Linked DNA regions of Homo sapiens: region 2 is linked to region 1. Evidence: promoter capture Hi-C in 16 types of primary human blood cells and fetal thymus (Javierre and others, 2016). All regions are on one chromosome and are shown on one strand. Each heading gives the region's core, a stretch centred on a gene start or on the middle of the fragment in contact. The rest is flanking DNA. Distances are from core to core; before and after follow the strand shown. Region 1 holds the start of TXNRD3 (thioredoxin reductase 3). Region 2 holds the start of C3orf22 (chromosome 3 open reading frame 22).

Region 1 (2,700 bases), core at 160-2,659:
GCATTTCAGACTTGTGCCCTGACAGGTGGCAACTGCAGGGGAGAAGGGACCCTGTGGATATTTCTGAATGTCACTGGACCCATCAATGTCTGTTTCCTTCAGGCTGCCCATGTCAATGACCCATCAATGTTGTGTGATGGGCCAGGCTGTGCCATGCAAGAGTGTCATGGTCTGTGCCCCTGATTACTCCCCCTCACGGCTCAAAGAGGAGGACCCAAGCTAATGTGAAAATCACAGGCACTGTGATTGGGTGCTAGATGAAACTTCACGCAGGGACCCGGCCAGCCCTGCGACCTCCCTGAGGGCGACGGCTGGGGACATGGGTCATGTCCACAGATTAGTCTCAGGGAAAAGGAGGATGCACCTGACTTCAAGGCCCGTAGCTTCCACACACTCCCCCCTCATCCTGGACATGTGTCCTCACCTGAACAATGGCCCCATGACTGGTTGTGCCTCATGGGACCCAGGAGATGGAGAGACGCAGCCACACCTCATAGGAGCAGGGCGGCCAGCCTCATTCTCTGCCAAATCCGCAGCGCCCAGCACAGTATCTGGCACATGACAGGCACTCCAGCATCGCTGAGTGCACAGGTTAACAAAAAGCATAAAGTACCTACTAGGCTCCTTCCCCTGCTCTGGTTATTGCATGGGTTCCGCCTAGAGGACTTAACTGAAATGTAAAGAATTGTTGAGAAGAAGGAAACTCCAGGTTTTTGTTTTTGGTTTTGTTTTTTTTTTTTGAGACGGAGTCTCGCTCTGTTGCCCAGGCTGGAGTGCAGTGGCGCCATCTCGGCTCACTGCAAGCTCCGCCTCCCAGGTTCACGCCATTCTCCTGCCTCAGCCTCCCAAGTAGCTGGGACTACAGGCACCCGCCACCATGACCGGCTAACTCAGTCACTGCAGGCAAGTTCAGCTCCGAGGTCTTCCACTCATCCACCGAAATGGACAGAGGATTCCTCTTCTCGCGGTTTCAGAGTCCCTTTGTTAGGGGCGGCTCTGGAATTCTATGTAGAAGGGAACTGACGGGTAGCAACCTAGGAAACTCATTAAAGCTGCATTGCAATAGCAAACGCAATATATTTATTTAGCTTGTGTGATCTAAACTTTTAAAAATATCAATCTTTCCAATTCACACTTCCCATAAAAATTGAAGAACGTATATTTTAAGGTGGTTTAAAGGGGCTGTTGGGGATTATTAGGAGTAAAAGGCATTGCACAGAGGCCATCTCAGAGCGCCATCGCCAAGATTGGGTGGTCTCCGGACGCAGGCACAACCTGGAGATAAAGAGGCTCGCGCTTGGTACCCGCCCCTTTGCGAAGGGCAGGTGACACCTAGGCTGCGGGCGGGCGGGGGACCCAATTTCGCATGCGCGGGGCGGTGTTGGGGGGCGGGGCGAGCGGCTGCCTCGCGGATTCGCGCGGGTGGTGAGAGTGGCCAGCGAGGGCAGCGTTCGCCGCCCCTCAGGCCCCGTCCCGGCGCCGCAGCCGCCTGCGTTTCGGTTTGTGAGCAGGCCCGGCCGGGCCAGGAGCGAGAGCGAGACTCTGGAGCGGTCGCCGCCGCAGTCGCCCGGGCCGGGAAAGGCGGGCGATGCCCCCAACCGCCGCTCGGGCCATGTCCGAGGGGCGCGCGTGTTGTCGCCGCCGGGGCGCCGTGCCCGCCTGTCGTCCCCCGGGCCCAGCCGCTCGTCCGAGGCCCGCGAGGAGCTGCGCCGCCACCTCGTGGGCCTCATCGAGCGCAGCCGGGTGGTGATCTTCAGCAAGAGCTACTGTCCCCATAGTACTCGGGTAGGCGCGGCCCTCGCCGGTTCCACCGCGCGCGACCGGGCCCGCCACGCGGACGCCACCCGGGGCAGGGCGGGTCCGGGCCGGGGCGCCCGCGGGTCCCGGGCTGCGGCGGTGAGGTCAGCCGTCCGTCCTCTCCTCTCCCCGGTCGTCCCCTGAGGTGGGCTTGTGATAGTTTATCAAAACAGAAACTCTCCTAATTGCGTGACCTCGACCCGGGTTAGGACCCTGTGCAGAGCCTCAGTTCCCCCGTTTGTGAAACGAAGGTACGGGAAGGTTGTTAGGACGACTGAGGTAATTTCAGCTTCATGCACACTGCCTTAACTTTTCGGGGCGGACTAGGAATCCGGCATTATTTCTAAGGACAAATGTATTCTGTGTTTAAGAATACTTCACTTAGAAACGAGCCTTTGGGTGATAACCTACGTGTAAGGTACAGACTTTCAACGTTTAGGAATTTACTTCATTTTACAGAAAGTTGAAAAATGATACGTGGAAGACAGTATGCAAAAGCATAAACTATTGGGTTGAGTTCATGAAATTATAGGCTGTGTTTTTCAAATATATTTGAAGTTTACATTGATGTGTATAGTTTCTTAAAACATATATTATGCATATATATTTTTAAGAATAATAAAGTGACACTAGTACTGTAGAAGCTTCCTTGGCTGTCTCCTCCCTCCCTCAGGGTTAACCACTATGCAAAATTTCCTTTTTTTTTTTTTACATTTTTACCAAATATATATATTATTCATCAATATTTGGTTCCTTTTGGCCTGTTTTGGGACTTGATATAAATAGAACCATACATACATAGGTATTCTTCTGCAGTTTTCTTCCTCAACAGTTATGTTTCAGAGATTCATGCATGTTAGTATCTGTAGCTGGGGTTCATTAATTTTCGTTGCTGACTATTCC
Region 2 (2,700 bases), core at 84-2,583, 96 kb after region 1:
AACAAATTGGATAACCTAGATAAAATGGACAAATTTCTAGAAACAAAAAAAAAAAAAACCAACAAGACTGAATCAGGGAGAAATAGAAAATATGAATAGACTCATAACTAGTAAAGAGATTGAATCAGTAACGAAGAAAAGCCCTGGGCCACATGATATCACTCGTGAATTCTAACAAACACTTACTAAAGAACATACATAAATGTTTTTCAAAGTTTTTCTAAAAGTTGAAGAGGTGGGACCATTTCCTAACTCATTCTGTGAGGCCAGCATTGCCCTAATACCAAAGTCAGACAAAGACCCTACAAGAAAGGAAAACTAGGGGCCAATATCCCTTATGAATACACATGCAAAAATCCTCAATGAAATATTAGTAAATGAAATTCATCAGCATATTAAAAGTGTTACACACTATTAACAAGTAATATTTATCCCTAGAATGTAAGGATTATTTTTTCATAATGAAAATATCAATGTACTACACTACATTATTAGAATGAGGAGGAAAAGACATGATCATTTCAATTGATGTGGAAAACACGCTTGACAAAATTGAACACTCTTTCATGATAAAAACACTCAACTCCTTAACATGATAAAGGCAATATATCCAAAAATCCCACAGCCAACACCATACTGTATAGTGAAAAACTGGAAACTTTTTCTCTAAGATCAAGAAGGAGACAAGGATGCCCACCTTCCCCAGTTCTATTTAACACAGTACTGGAAGTTCTAGCCAGAGCAACTAAGCAAGAAAAGGAAATATAAAGCATTCGAATTGGAAAGGAAGAAGTGAAGTTACCTCCGTTCACAGATGGCATATAGAAAACCCTAAATAATCCATAAAAACCCTGTTAGCACTAATAAGTAAAAAGCCGTAGGGTATAGCAGACAGTGGCACAGGTGAACAGCACTAATAAGTGAAAAGTCGTAGGGTACAGTAGACAGTGGCACAGGTGAACGGCTGAACCACTTCCAGTTCAGCTCCTTCACTGCCTTCTCCTTCCTCAACCCCCTGCAACCTGGTGTCCACTCCTCCACAGAAACAGCTTTTCTGCAGCCTCAGTGTCTGTACCTATTTCTGGGCGTCTCTTCTGTATGCAGAACCTGAACAGGGAGAGGTCTCTGCTATGAAGAGTGCAGATGTGGATGCTTCTGTCTGGGTGCGTGGAGCTGAGAGGCTGGCCAGCCCTGGCCCATGTGCTGCTGACTTTGCAGTCACTCCCTGGGCCAGAGGGGCTTCAGGCTGGAGTCTGAGCCTCATGGGTCAGCAGCTGTGATGTCACCAATTGTGACCTCAAGGGCTTCTGACCTTGCAGTGAGCTTGTTGGCACTGCCTGTCCGGGGACCCTGGGGCTGCTGTTCCTGTGGTAATGTGGCAGCTGGGACCATGGCCAGCTTCAGTCTGCCTGGCGTCACATAAGCCAGCCCACAGGGTCCTGCAGCTTGTCCTTTCTGGCTGGAAGCTCTGGGCATAGCCTGGGACTGGGTCTTTCCAGAGAGGGCTGTAGCCAGGGCCCTGCCAGCCTCGGGGGCCACAGCGGCTCTCACACCAGCATCTTGCTGGATAGGAGCAGTTCCAGGACTCTCTGATCACACCTGATCATCGTCACTGCCAGAATTCAAGGTAGCTGCCTGGTGAGTGCTAGCAGCCTGTGTGGCTGGAAAGGACAGTCCCCAAGTCGGTTAGGGACTTGGGAAGCAGCAACAGGGTGGCGGAGAAGAGCCTGGGACAGGGTCATGATGGCAGAGGGCAGCCCTGGACTCTGCAGCAGCCCTGTCCCTGTGGGGCAGATTCAGCAGTCAGCTTACAGGGTCATCTCCATGACCTAGGGGTCAGGTGGGAGGGTATGGGGTGGGGCTGAGGGGCGCTCCTGTCTCCCTTGATCCCTCAATTCCTGTGGTAATGCTGCTTCCCCGGTTCAGGACTGTTTGAGGCTGCATGGCCCAGCAGGAGGAGCACAGGCCACCCATCCTGAACCTCTTCCCCGACTCACTGTGTGAATGCAGGCAAATCAGTTAACTTTCCGGAGCCTCAGTTTCCTCACTTGAATTATGGGGGTGAGCATAATACGTTCTCCATCAGGTAGAAAAAAAATGAAGTGAGGTTATGCATAGAATGTAGCAGACACTTAGAGGCCACAGGCACCATTCTGCAGCCTCCTGCTGTGGCCCTGCTGCCTGTCCCGGCCCAGGCTTCCCCTGCCCCGCACTCCTCAGGGTTGAGCCTGGGCTGGAGGTGACTCACCCAAGTGCACCTGACAGGAAGGGGCTGAGCTGGGGCCTGGCCCAGGCTGTGGCTGCAGGACTGTGGGCTTAGGCCCAGCGAAGGCATCCCAGAGTCCTCAGAACAGCCAGGGCTGCAGGGGCGGAGGCCACCAAGACCCCCTTTAGCCAGCACTGGTGTAGAGAGCTGCACCCTGTACTAGACTAGTGGGCAAGTCAGTGGGGAAGCCTGCCCTTCAGGGCCCAGGGACTTCTTGGTGCGGGCAAGGGACAGGTCGTGAGCAGGGCTGGCAGTATTTCTGGGCCAGGGCAAAGGCCCTCTGGATGGCTGATCTTCCAGAGTCAGAGATGGGGCACGGAGGCGGTGGGTGAGCGGGTGTGTTCTGGCTCACAGACAGGCTGGTCTCCCATGCCATGGCCATGGTCCCAGTGGCCTGTGTTCAGTGTCCAGTGTGCAGCCTCCCGCCTCGGGCC

What was found. The method cuts DNA at HindIII sites, captures the fragments that hold promoters and counts their contacts. A CHiCAGO score of 5 or more calls a contact.
Region 2: the fragment with the promoter of C3orf22 here is called in contact with the fragment with the promoter of TXNRD3 in region 1 in 6 of 17 cell types (M0 macrophages, megakaryocytes, M2 macrophages and 3 more); the score reaches 11.4 in M0 macrophages.

What each region holds. Positions count from the first base shown.
Region 1 is chr3:126,653,833-126,656,532 of GRCh38, reverse strand. It overlaps TXNRD3 (thioredoxin reductase 3), which reads left to right and starts at 1,409. Exons shown (of 16, transcript NM_052883.3): 1 at 1,409-1,785. The coding sequence starts at 1,543. The HindIII fragment of the contact is 4,771 bases long and covers 1-2,443 here.
Region 2 is chr3:126,557,565-126,560,264 of GRCh38, reverse strand. C3orf22 (chromosome 3 open reading frame 22) reads left to right here and starts at 1,333. Exons shown (of 4, transcript NM_152533.3): 1 at 1,333-1,638. LOC105374090 (a long non-coding RNA gene) reads right to left here and starts at 1,252. Exons shown (of 3, transcript XR_924455.2): 1 at 1,076-1,252. The HindIII fragment of the contact is 5,245 bases long and covers 1-2,700 here.